Regions from separate parts of the Homo sapiens genome. Here regions 1, 3 and 4 are each linked to region 2. The links are contacts of gene promoters, found by promoter capture Hi-C in human tissues and cell types (Jung and others, 2019). All regions are on one chromosome and are shown on one strand. The core of a region is centred on a gene start or on the middle of the fragment in contact, and the rest is flanking DNA. Distances in the headings are between cores, read along the strand shown.

Region 1 (2,897 bases), core at 239-2,738, 460 kb after region 2:
AAGGAAGGGTGATATATACTAAATTATAAGTTCCTTTCTTTTTTTTTTTCAAGACAGAGTCTCACTCTGTTGCCCAGGCTGGAGTGCAATGGCACGATCTCGGCTCACTGCAATCTCCGCCTCCTGGGTTCAAGCAATTCTCCTGTCTCCACCTCCCAAGTAGCTGGGATTACAGGCGCAGGCCACCACACCCGGCTAATTTTTGTATTTTCACTAGAGACGGGGTTTCGCCATGTTGGTCAAGCTGGTCTTGAACTCCTGGACTCAGGCAAGCCACCTGCCTCAGTCTCCCAAAGTGCTGGAATTACGGGCGTGAGCCACCACACCCAGCCTCATAAGTTCTTTTCTTTAAGAAGGAAGGATAGCATGAGTTGTTGAAAGGGAGATGGTGAGAAAGAGAAATAAAAGGAAAGTAAAAGAAAGCAAATGTCCGAGGCAGTGGTTCTGAACCTGGGGCTATTTTGCACCCCCAGGGGTCATTTAGCAATATCTAGAGATATTTTTGGTTGTCCAACAGTGGGGGTGCTACTAGCATTGAGGGATGCTGTAAAACATTCTACAATGTACAATGAAACCCCATAACCAAGGAGTATCTGGGCCCAAATGTCAATAGTACCAGGATTGAGAAACCCTGGTAAAAACTTTTAGATGACAATTCATCAATACAAAATTTTGATATCTTTGACCCAGTAGTAATTCTACATCTAGAAATCTATCCTTAAAAAATATTCACTGGCCAGGTGCAGTGGCTAACACCGATAATCCCAACACTTTGGTAGGCTGAGGCAGGTGGATTGCTTGAACTCAAGAGTTCCAGACCAGCCTGAGCAACATGGTGAGACGCTGTTGCTATGAAAAATCAGCATTTTTTTTTTTTTTGAGACAGAGTCTTGCTTTGTCACCTAGCCTGAAATGCAGTGGCGTGATCTTGGCTCACTGCAACCTCCACCTGCCAGGTTCAAGCGATTCTTGTGCCTCACCTGAGTAGCTTGGATTACAGGCATGTGCCACGATGCCCAACTAATTTTTGTATTTTTAGTTGAGATGGAGTTTTGCCATGTTGGCCAGGCTGGTCTTGAACTCCTTGCCCTAAGTGATCCAACTGCCTTGGCCTCCCAAAGTGCTGGGATTACAGGAATGAGCTGCCATGCCAAGCCGAAAAATTTTAAATACAAAAATTAGCCAGGCATGGTGATGTACACCTGTGGTCCCAGCTACTAGGGAGGCTAAGGTGGGAGGATGGCTTGAGCCTGGGATGCAGAGGTTGCAGTGAGCTGAGATGGCGCCACTGCACTCCAGCCTGGGCAATAGAGCCAAACCCTGTCTCGAAAAAAAAAAAAAAAATTCACCCATGTGTACAAAGATATTTACACATAGATGGTTGTTGCTTTTAATTTCAAAACTGGAAATTACTCAAATATCTACCAATCAATAGTTATTTAAAGGAATGACAAGGAAATGTCTATAACGTGTTAAAAAATCAAATTATAGAACAATATGTTGTCCCATTTTTTGCTTAAAAAATGCAGCCAATATACATTATATATAATTTTCTTTTCTTTTCTTTATTCTTTTTTCTTTTTTGAGACAGAGTTTCCCTCTGTCACCCAGGCTGGAGTGCAGTGGTGCAATCTCGGCTCACTGCATCCTCCACCTCCCAGGTTCAAGCGATTCTCCTGCTTCAGCCTCCCAAGTAGTTGGGATTACAGGCGCTTGCCACCATGCCCAGCCAATTTTTCTATTTTTAGTAGTGACAAGGTTTCACCATATTGGCTAAGCTGGTCTCAAACTGCTGACCTCAGGTGATCCACCTGCCTCAGCCTTCCAAAGTGCTGGGATTACAGGCATGAGCCTACATTATGTAAAATTTATTTAAAACCATATATGTGTGTGTGTGTGTGTGTGTGTGTGTGTCTGTGTGTGTGTGTGTGTGTGTCTGCCTGCATAGTTGAATATCTGGAAAGATATAAACCAAACTGAAGACAGAAAGAAGTTCCCTCTGGGCAATGGGATTATTTGTTATAGAAGAATTTTCATGTTTAACTTTAGGATGTTAATATAAAGTTTAGGCTGGGTGTGGTGGCTCATGCCTGTAATCCCAGCACTTTGGGAGGCTGAGGCGGGAGGATCACTTGGGGCCAGGAGTTCGAGACCAGCCTGGCCAACATAGTGAAACCCCGTCTCTACTAAAAAATACAAAAATTAGCCGGGTGTGGTGGCATGTGCCTATAATCCCAGCTACTCAGGTGGCTGAGGCACCAGAATTGCTTGAATGCGGGAGACAGAGGTTGCAGTGAGCCAGGATCGCGCCACTGCACTCCAGCCTGGGCAACAGGGCAAGACTCCCTCTCAATGACAAACAAACAAACAAACAAAAAACCACAGTTTGAATAGGCCATCTGGCCCCAAAAGCCTGAAATATCTACTATCTGGCCTTTTACAGAACAAATTGGCTGAGTCTTGCTATACGTCGTAACAGATGCTATCTAGGATGTTGAATTTCCAACTCTTTTGCTTGCTCATATAACCTATAAAATAATTTTGAAAAATGATGTCACCTCTTTACCTTCTTAAATTGACATCTAAAATGAGGCCAGGCATGATGGCTCACGCCTGCAATCCCAGCACTTTGGGAGGCAGAGGCAAGTGGATCACCTGAGGTCGGGAGTTTGAGACCAGCCTGGCCAACATGGTAAAACCCCGTCTCTACTGAAAATAAAGAAAAATTAGCCAGGTATGGTGGTGCATGCCTGTAATCCCAGCTACTCGGGAGGCTGAGACAGGATAATCGCTTGAACCTGAGAGGCGGAGGTTGCAGTGAGCCTGAGATTGAGCCACTGTACTACAGCCTGGGTGACAGAGATGAGACTCCGTCTCAAAAAAAAAAAATTGACATC
Region 2 (3,098 bases), core at 109-2,608:
AGTGAGCTGAGATCGTGCCATTGTACTCCATCCTGGGCAACAAGAGCGAAACTCCATCTCAGGGAAAAAAAAAAAAGTGAAAAGACTACAAAATGGAAGAAAATATTTGCAAGTCATTTATCAGATAAGGGACTTATACAGAATAAACAAAATAATGGCCAGGCAGGGTTGCTTATGCCGGTAATCCCAGCACTTTGGGAGGCTGAGGCAGGTGGATTGCTTGAGCCCAGAAGTTCCAGACCAGCCTGGGCAACATAGTGAGACCTCGTCTCTACAAAAAAATACAAAAATCAGCCGAGTGGTGGCGCATTCCTGCAGTCCCAGCTATTTGGGAGGCAGAGGCAGGAGGATCAATTCAGCCAGGGAGGTTGAGGCTACAGTGAGCCGTGATCGTGCCACTGCACTGCAGCCTGGGCACAGCGGAAGACCCTGTCTCAAAAAATAAAAATAACTCTTACCACAGTATTCAAGAGACAAACTGCTCAATTAAAAACCGGGCAAAGGGTCTGAATAGGCATTTCTCTAAAGAAGATATACAAATGACCAATAAACATATGAAAGGATATTCAACATCATTAATCATTAGGGAAATACAAGTCAAAACCTGGAGATCCCACTTTACTTACACCCACTAGAATGTCTATAAACAAAAAGACAATGACAAGTACTGTCCAGGATCTGGAGAAACTGGAACTCTCATTTATAAATAACCCCGGGAAGGCCTGTTTTCCCATGAGTAGAACAGACTCTGAACGCCCCTCCCACTTTTGACCCTAATGGACCCTGAAGGACCACACGCATTCCGGCGTGCCCTGGGGTTCCTCTAGGAGGGGAGGGGAGAAGCGTCGCGAGACCTGAGAAATTGTCTTTGGGCAAGTCGTGCTAGGGCTCTCACGGCTCTCATCGTGCCTCCGCGGCCCGGTTTCCGGCCACTAGTAGCCTGGAGAAGGGCTTACCCAAGGCACAGGCCATGGCAGCGCCCACCAGGCCTCCACCCGACACCACCACGTCATACACGGTGTCTGTTGAGGCGCCGGACCACCTGCGCCAGGACACCAGCGGGCCGCTGTGGGGAGCTGCACGCACAGCCCCGCATCGGCTGACAAGCCGGGCCGCCATGGTGCAGACCTGCGCCGTCGCACTCAGAACTCCCGCAGGCCCACCTACGTAGTGCGTCCGGAGCAGAGCACTCCAATCCCGTCCCGCTTCCGCGGCGTCCTCAGAACCGGAAATAAAATGCGCGGAGAAAATAGGCCAATCGGAAAACGAACCTTGCCTCCTCGGGCGGGATGGATCGGAGGCTGCCCTGGAAGCCAACCAGACGCCAAAGCTAGAAAGGGGTGGACCCTGGCCCCGCATAGCTCTCGCTGCCACCGCTGCTGCCACTATCGCTGTCACTGTCGCTGCTGCCTCTGTCCAGCTGAAATGACCGTGGGGAGGCCTGAGGGAGCCCCCGGAGGCGCGGAGGGGAGCCGTCAGGTGAGGAGAGAAAAGAGACTGCCCCCGGGAAAGGAATCCCGGAGAGGAAACTGTTGGGCGTTGCCTTGGAGACAGACAGCAGGGGCGTGTCACGGAGGGGCGTGGGATTAAAATGAGCGTTTAGGGACCAGGAGGCGGACTCTGACTTACAGACCTGAACCTCTCGGACTTTATACGAGGCTCTTGATAGGCAATGTCACTCAGTTTTCGCTTATCCTCTTAGTACTCTATGACCAGTAGTACAATTGTCGTCTCATTTTTGTAGAAGAGAAAACTGAGGCACAAAGAGATTAAGAAAATTGCTCCCCAAATTTGGCCGGGCGTGGTGGTTCACGCCTGTAATCCTAGCACTTTGGGAGGCCGAGGCGGGTGGATCACCTGAGGTCAGGAGTTCGAGACCAGCCTGGCCAACATGGTGAAACTCCGTCTAAAAATTTAAAAAAAAAAAAAAAATTGGCCAGGCGCGCTGGCTCACGCCTGTAATCCCAGCACTTTGGGAGGCCAAGGAAAGCGGATCATGAGGTCAAGAGATCGAGACCAGGCTGGTTTCCATGGCAAAACCCCGTCTCTACTAAAAATACAAAAATTGGCCGGGTGCGGTGGCTTACTCCTGTAATGCAGCACTTTGGGACCTGAGGTCAGGAGTTCAAGACCAGCCTGACCAACATGGAGAAACCCTGTCTCTACTAAAAAAAATACAAAATTAGCTGGACGTGGTGGCACATGCCTGTAATCCCAGCTACTCGGGAGGCTGAGGCAAGAGAATTGCTTGAACCTGGGAGGTGGAGGTTGCAGTGAGCCGAGATTGTGCCATTGCACTCCAGCCTGGGCAACAAGAGCAAAACTCTCTCAAAAACAAAAACAAACAAACAAAAAAATACAAAAAATTATCTGGGCATGGTGGTGCGCGCCTGTAGTCCTAGCTACTCGGGAGGCTGAGGCAGGAGAATCACTTGAACCCGGGAGGTGGAGGTTGCAGTGAGCCAAGATTGCACCACTGCACTCTAGCCTGGCGACAGAGCGAGACTCCGTCTCAAAAAAAAAAAAAAATTAGCCAGGTGTGGTGGCGCGTGCCTCCAGTGATCCACCAGCCAAGGCCTCCCAAAGTGCTGGGATTACAGGCGTGAGCCAGTGCACCTGGTGGACCCCAAACTATTAAAGGCAAAAAGTAGATTGGCAGTTGCTTAGGGCTGGTGGGGTGGGGTGTGGAGGGTTAGGGGAAATAGGGAGTGACCACTAAAGCGTGTGGCATTTCTTTTAAGGGCGATGAAGGTGTTCTAAAATTGTGATGGTAGTTGCACAACTCTGTGTATATACTAAAACCACTGAATTGTACACTTTAAATGAGTGAATATATTGTATAGAAATTATGTCTTAATAAAGTTGTCTTTAAAAGAAAAGAAAAAACGTGCCCAAGATCACACACTGTAGCAGAGCCAGGGCTAGGGTGCATACATATCTCTGACTCTTACCCTGGATTTTAGTAAGCCTGGCTCCTCATCAATCAAGTGTCAATTCAAAATTCCTCCACAATGAAAAATAAAAATCAGCCCAGGACTGAGAAAGTATAACTCAGACTGTCATAGGCATAGATAATGCCAACGGCAAGAGCATCAGGA
Region 3 (2,960 bases), core at 420-2,919, 280 kb after region 2:
TGAGTCACTGAATAAACACTTACAGAGTGTCTACTATATATATCAAGCACTATTGTAGATGCTAATTAACAAAACTGAAATGGCCAGGCCCTCACAGTGGCTCACGCCTGTAATTCTGGCACTTTGGGAGGATGAGGCAAGAGGATCACTTGAGGCCAGGAGTTCAAGACCAGCCTGTACAACATAGTAAGACTCCATCACTACAAAAAAAAAATTTTTTTTTTAATTAGCTGGGCAAGGTGGTGCACACCTGTAATCCCAGCTATCCACCTGTAGTGCCAGCTTCTTAGGAGGCTGAGGAGCAAGGATTGCTGGAGCCCAGGAGTTCAAGATTATAGTAAACTATACTAGTCCGAGATTACAGTGAGCTGTAATCATGCCACTGCACTCCAGCCTGGGTGAGAGAGTGAGAACCTGTCTCTAAGCAAACAAAAATCAAAACTGAATGGTCATTAGGATTTGTGTGTGTGTGTGTGTGTGTTTGTGTGTGAGAGAGAGAGAGAGAGAACAAGAACAAGAATTTCAGGTAATAATGAGTAACATGAAAAAATAAAATTACAACTGGTAGGAGTTACTCAGCCAGGCGTGGTGGCTCAGGCTTGTAATCCTAGCACTTTGGGAGGTTGAGGCAGGTGGATTGCTTGAGCCCAGGAGTTCAAGACCAGCCTGGGCAACATGGCGAGACCCCTACTAAAAATACAAAAAAATTAGCTGAGTGTGATGAGGTGTGTCTTTAGTCACAGCTACTTGGGAGGCTGAAGCGGGAGGACTGCTTGAGCCCAGGAGACACTCCAGCCTGGGCGACACAGTGAGACCCTGGCTCAAAAAAATAGTTACTCCACCAGGCATGGTGGCTCACGCCTGTAATTCCAGCACTTTGGAATTACTCAGCTCAGGCTGAGGCCAGAGTATTGCTTAAGCCCAGGAGTTTGAGATCAGCCTGGGCAACATAGTGGGACCCTGTCTTTACAAAAAATTAAAATATTAGCTTGGTATGATGGCACACACCTGTGGCCCCAGCTACTCAGGAGGCTGAGGTGGGAGGATGGCCTGAGCCCAGGAGGTCAAGGTTGCAATGAGCTGTGATTGTACTACTGCACTCTAGCCTGGGTGACAGAGTGAGACCTCGTCTAAAACAAAAAGAATTAGTGCTTAGAGAGCTGCTTTAGATATACGGTGATTGGGTCACCTTTGAGGAGGCAACATCTGAGCTGAGGTGTAAAGATCAAGAAGGAGCCCACATCGTGATTGGGTCACCTTTGAGGAAGCAACATCTGAGCTGAGGTGTAAAGATCAAGAAGGAGCCCACATCGTGATTGGGTCACCTTTGAGGAGGTGACATCTGAGCTGAAGTGTGAGGGTTAAGAAGGGGTCCGCATTGTGGAAATCCATGGCAATAGAGTTTTTAAGACAGAGGGAACAGCCAAGTATAAAGATTCTCAGGTGGGAATGAATTGTGCATGGTCAAGGAACAGAAAGAAGGCCAGTCACTAGAGATTATCAACTAGGAGAAGAGAAACATGAAATGAGATCAGAAAGGAAGGCAAAGGCCAGATCATATATACAAATGGGTTTATAATGTACCTCAATAGTTTTCCTGAATAGTTATAAATCAACCCCTTTCCTTCAACTTAACATTCCATGTTTCACACATTACAGTAATCATTTTTAATTTACTGAGACAGCTATTTAAATCATGCTATGAGGCAGATGTGTCTAGATGAATAAGTCATCTAGTATGTGAACATATTAGAAACCCAGTATCTGCATCCCAATGCAGCTTTCTTTTTCTTTCCTTTTTTTTTTCCCCTCTGTCACCCAGACTGCATTGCTATGGCACAATCATAGTTCACTGTAAACTCAAACTCCTAGGCTCAAGCAATCAATCCTTCCACCTCAGCCTCCCCGAGTAGCTGGGACTATAGGCATGTACCACCATGCCTGGCTAATTTCTTTTTAAATTTTCAGTAGAGACGAAGTCTTGCTATGTTGCCCAGGTAAACTCCTGGCCTCAAGGGATCCTCCCACCTTGGCCTTCTAAGTGCCAGATTACCGGCATGAACCACTGTGCCCAGCCATAGCTTTGTTTTTCTTTATTCTGCAAATAAGCAATAAAGCTTTTGGACAAAACCCCACATTACACCCTGGAAAGAAAAACAACTATTGGCTATCATTGATAGGAGTGTATAAAAAGTGACGATATCTAAAACAAGTGATAGTTCAGCCAGATAGCATCTTAATACACAATACATACCTTTAATCCTATATTTATAATTTATTTGTGGTCTCTGGGTATTTATTACATTTTATGGAATAAATTACATGCTATAGTAATACTTGAGAATTTGGGATTCTATAAGGGATTCTATAAATACCTGGGGGAACATCAAGTATATTGACACTAAAAGTTCTGGAGTACATTTATCTGCAAACTATTTCTTTATAGATAACTCAAAGTTACATTTAGCCTGAAATATAATAATTCTGAATTTCTGTATTACAATTTAATATTTTACGCTTTATGCACAATGTCTCTATATTTGAAATTTTTCCATCTAAGGCTCAGAAACTGGACAGAAGGCTAAATATCCTTAAACTTACCAATTTATTTAGAACATCACAAATATCAAATTTTGCCCAGGTGTGGTGGCTCACGCCTGTAATCCCAGCACTTTGGGAGGCCGAGGCAGGCGGATCATGAGGTCAGGAGATCGAGACCATCCTGGCTACTACGGTGAAACCCCATCTCTATTAAAAAAATACAAAAAAATTAGCCAGGTGTGGTGGTGGGCGCCTGTAGTCCCAGCTACTCGGGAGGCTGAGGCAGGAGAATGGCATGAACCCGGGAGGCGGAGGTTGCAGTGAGCTGATATTATGTCACTGCACCCTAGCCTGGGTGACAGGGCAAGACTCCGTCTCAAAAAAAAAAAAAATCAAATTTTTACAGATCATTAAGAATT
Region 4 (2,883 bases), core at 254-2,753, 260 kb after region 2:
AGGTCAAAACCATCCTGGCCAACATGGTGAAACCCCATCTCTACTAAAAATACAAAAATTAGCTGGGGGGGGGGGGTGGCGCACGCCTGTAGTTCCAGCTACTTGGGAGGCTGAGGCAGGAGAATCGCTTGAACCCGGGAGGCGGAGGTTGCAGTGAGCCAAGATTGCGCCATTGTATTCCAGCCTGGGCAACAGAGCCAGACTCTAAAAAAAAGAATGACAGACTGAATTTCTTAACAGCCCAGCTGAATTGAATTGGGGAGGTAGTGTTCAAAGTCAAAATGAGGTCGATTTATATTGAAATATTTCTTATACACTTGCATTTTGGGATTGAGTTAAAATCTAAAATAATTATAACTCTTTATTTTGTTTCTGAGACAGAGTCTCACTCTGTTGCCCAGGCTGGAGTGCAGTGGCATCATCTTGGCTCACTGCAACCACCGCCTCCCAGGTTCAAGCAATTCTCCTGCCTTAGCCTCCTGAGTAACTGAGATTACAGGCACCCACCACCAGGTCCAGCTAATTTTGTATTTTTACTAGAGACAGGATTTCACCATGTTGGCCAGGCTGGTCTCGAACTCCTGACCTCAAGTGATCCTCCCACCTCGGCCTCCCAAAGTGCTAGGATTACAGGTGTGAGCCACCACACCCAGCTAATAACATATATTTTGAATACTTACTTTATGTTAAGCACAACGTTTAGCGTAGATTATCTCTATGTGTTCATTGTTTCACATAGATTATTTTATTTAATCCTCATAATAATACTCTGATATATGTTCTGAAATGATTACTAATGATACTATTATCATCTCCAGTTTTTAGATTACCAATGAACAAGGTTTGGTGAGATTAATTAATTAGCACAATTTCACAAACTATTAAGTGGAGGAGCTGGGACTTGACTCAGTTAATTAGGGTTATCTACTGATGCTGACACTGATCTTAAGATATTGGGAAACTAAGACTGGGGATGAGGGGAGAAACAGAGAGAATACCACAATTTTGATCCAATTGTAAAAAAGCAACTGCTTACCATGTATTTCTAATTATTCTGCAGAATCAGAATAATTTTTGATTCTGATCAAAATTTGTGACCTTTGTGTTACCTTTCTGACTTGAGAATAAGCCTAACTTTCTTTATTTTTTAAACTTGCTTAAATGAGCTAGAAGTTTATTTTTCTTTTACATAAAAGTACAAGTAGATAGTAGATAGACATGGAACTTTATGTTGTCTGGAAGTCAGGATCCTTCTCTTTTTTTTTTTTTTGAGACGGAGTTTCGCTCTTGTTGCCTAGGCTGGAGTGTAGTGGCACAATCATGGCTCACCACAACCTCCGCCTCCCGGATTCAAGCGATTCTCCTGCCTCAGCCTCCCGAGTAGATGGGGTTACAGGCATGCACCACCACATCCGGCTAATTTTGTATTTTTAGTAGAGATGGGGTTTCTCCATGTTGGTCAGGCTGGTCTCGAACTCCCAACCTCAGGTGATCTGCCCGCCTTGGCCTCCCCAAGTGCTAGGATTACAGGCATGAGCCACCGCACCTGGCCAGGCTCCTTCTCTCTTACTGCTTGCATGGGTGTCCTCCTTGTGATACAGGGAAGAGTGAGAAAAGGAGGAGGCTCAGCACCAAACCCTGAATAATTCCAGCTTTAATCCAACATAGCAGAAGGAAATTTATATCAGGAAAAAATAAATATACAATTTTTTAAAAATAAATACAGGGTTTTTCTCACTATATTGCAAAGGCTGGTCTCAAACTCCTGACCTCAAGCAATCTTCTTGCCTCATTGAATAGCTTGACTACAGAAACGTGCCACTGTGACTGGCTCCATGTAGATTTATAAGGCCTAGCTTTCTTTTCTTTTCTTTTTTTTTTTTTTGAGACGGAATTTCACTCTTTTTTGCCCAGGCTGGAGTGCAATGGCACAATCTCAGCTCACTGCAACCTCCGCCTGCCGAGTTCAAGTGATTCTCCTGCCTCAGCCTCCCGAGTAGCTGGGATTACAGGTGCCCGCCACCACGCCTGGCTAATTTTTATATTTTTAGTAGAGATGGGGTTTCACCATGTTGGCCAGGCTGGTCTCAGACTCCTGACCTTCGGTGATCCACCCGCCTCAGCCTCCCAAAGTGCTAGGATTACAGGCGTGAGCCACCCATGCCCGGCCAGGCCTAGCTTTCTTATAAGCTTTTGGTCTAGGGAGAATCTTGTACCAGTCTAAATATCCTAGCAGTTTTTCATCTCACCTTGGCTCAAACCTAGACCATTCAATTTTACATAGATAGAAATGACCTGGAAGATCAGAGGTATTTTTTCTTTAGTTTTTCTCCTCTTCATGATTCCATGCCACAAATTCCATTTTTATGCCTAGAAGATATGTCTAAGCCAGCTCAGAATCACTCACCATCCAGCTTTTTCAGTTTGGGCACTCTCTTGGTTGCTTCTTCAATCCAGTTATTCTCAGCAGAATGTTTCTCTTCCAAGGGATTGCCTACAAACACCAGGTCTTCGAGGCATGGCAGTTCTGCCAGCTTCACAAACTCAGCTACAAGTAAAAGAATATTTTCCATATTAAAACACTAAGTTTTGGCCGGGTGCGGTGGTCCACGCCTGTAATCCCAGAACTTTGGGGGGACAAGGCGGGCGGATCACGACATCAGGAGATCGAGACCATCCTGGCTAACACAGTGAAACCCCATCTCTACTAAAAATACAAAAATAAGCCAGGCATAGTGGTGGGCACCTGTAGTCCCAGCTACTCAGGAGGCTGAGGCAGGAGAACTGCTTGAACCCGGGAGACGGAGGTTGCAGTGAGCAGAGATTGCACCAATGCACTCCAGACTGAGCGACAGAGCACGACTCTGTCTCAAAAAAAAAAAA

The links. Contacts are between HindIII fragments. The study calls those that stand out against the background at their distance.
Region 1: a fragment that was not itself captured here is called in contact with the fragment with the promoter of FAM161B in region 2 in 1 of the 25 tissues and cell types used here (aorta).
Region 3: a contact is called between a fragment that was not itself captured here and the fragment with the promoter of FAM161B in region 2, in 1 of the 25 tissues and cell types used here (spleen).
Region 4: a contact is called between a fragment that was not itself captured here and the fragment with the promoter of FAM161B in region 2, in 1 of the 25 tissues and cell types used here (mesenchymal stem cells).

What each region holds. Positions count from the first base shown.
Region 1 is chr14:73,483,851-73,486,747 of GRCh38, reverse strand. All of the region lies in intron 17 of HEATR4 (HEAT repeat containing 4), which reads left to right. Among named protein-coding and RNA genes, the nearest start is that of RIOX1, 5.6 kb to the left of the region's middle. The HindIII fragment of the contact is 7,136 bases long and covers 1-2,897 here.
Region 2 is chr14:73,948,354-73,951,451 of GRCh38, reverse strand. It overlaps FAM161B (FAM161 centrosomal protein B), which reads left to right and starts at 1,358. Exons shown (of 9, transcript NM_152445.3): 1 at 1,358-1,479. The coding sequence starts at 1,426. It overlaps COQ6 (coenzyme Q6, monooxygenase), which reads right to left and starts at 1,150. Exons shown (of 12, transcript NM_182476.3): 1 at 957-1,150. The coding sequence starts at 1,119. RefSeq lists enhancers at 1,392-1,451, 468-1,468. The HindIII fragment of the contact is 12,170 bases long and covers 1-3,098 here.
Region 3 is chr14:73,672,733-73,675,692 of GRCh38, reverse strand. All of the region lies in intron 5 of DNAL1 (dynein axonemal light chain 1), which reads right to left. Among named protein-coding and RNA genes, the nearest start is that of DNAL1, 29 kb to the right of the region's middle. The HindIII fragment of the contact is 8,143 bases long and covers 1-2,960 here.
Region 4 is chr14:73,689,040-73,691,922 of GRCh38, reverse strand. It overlaps DNAL1 (dynein axonemal light chain 1), which reads right to left. Exons shown (of 8, transcript NM_031427.4): 7 at 2,408-2,548. Among named protein-coding and RNA genes, the nearest start is that of PNMA1, 24 kb to the left of the region's middle. The HindIII fragment of the contact is 3,889 bases long and covers 1-2,883 here.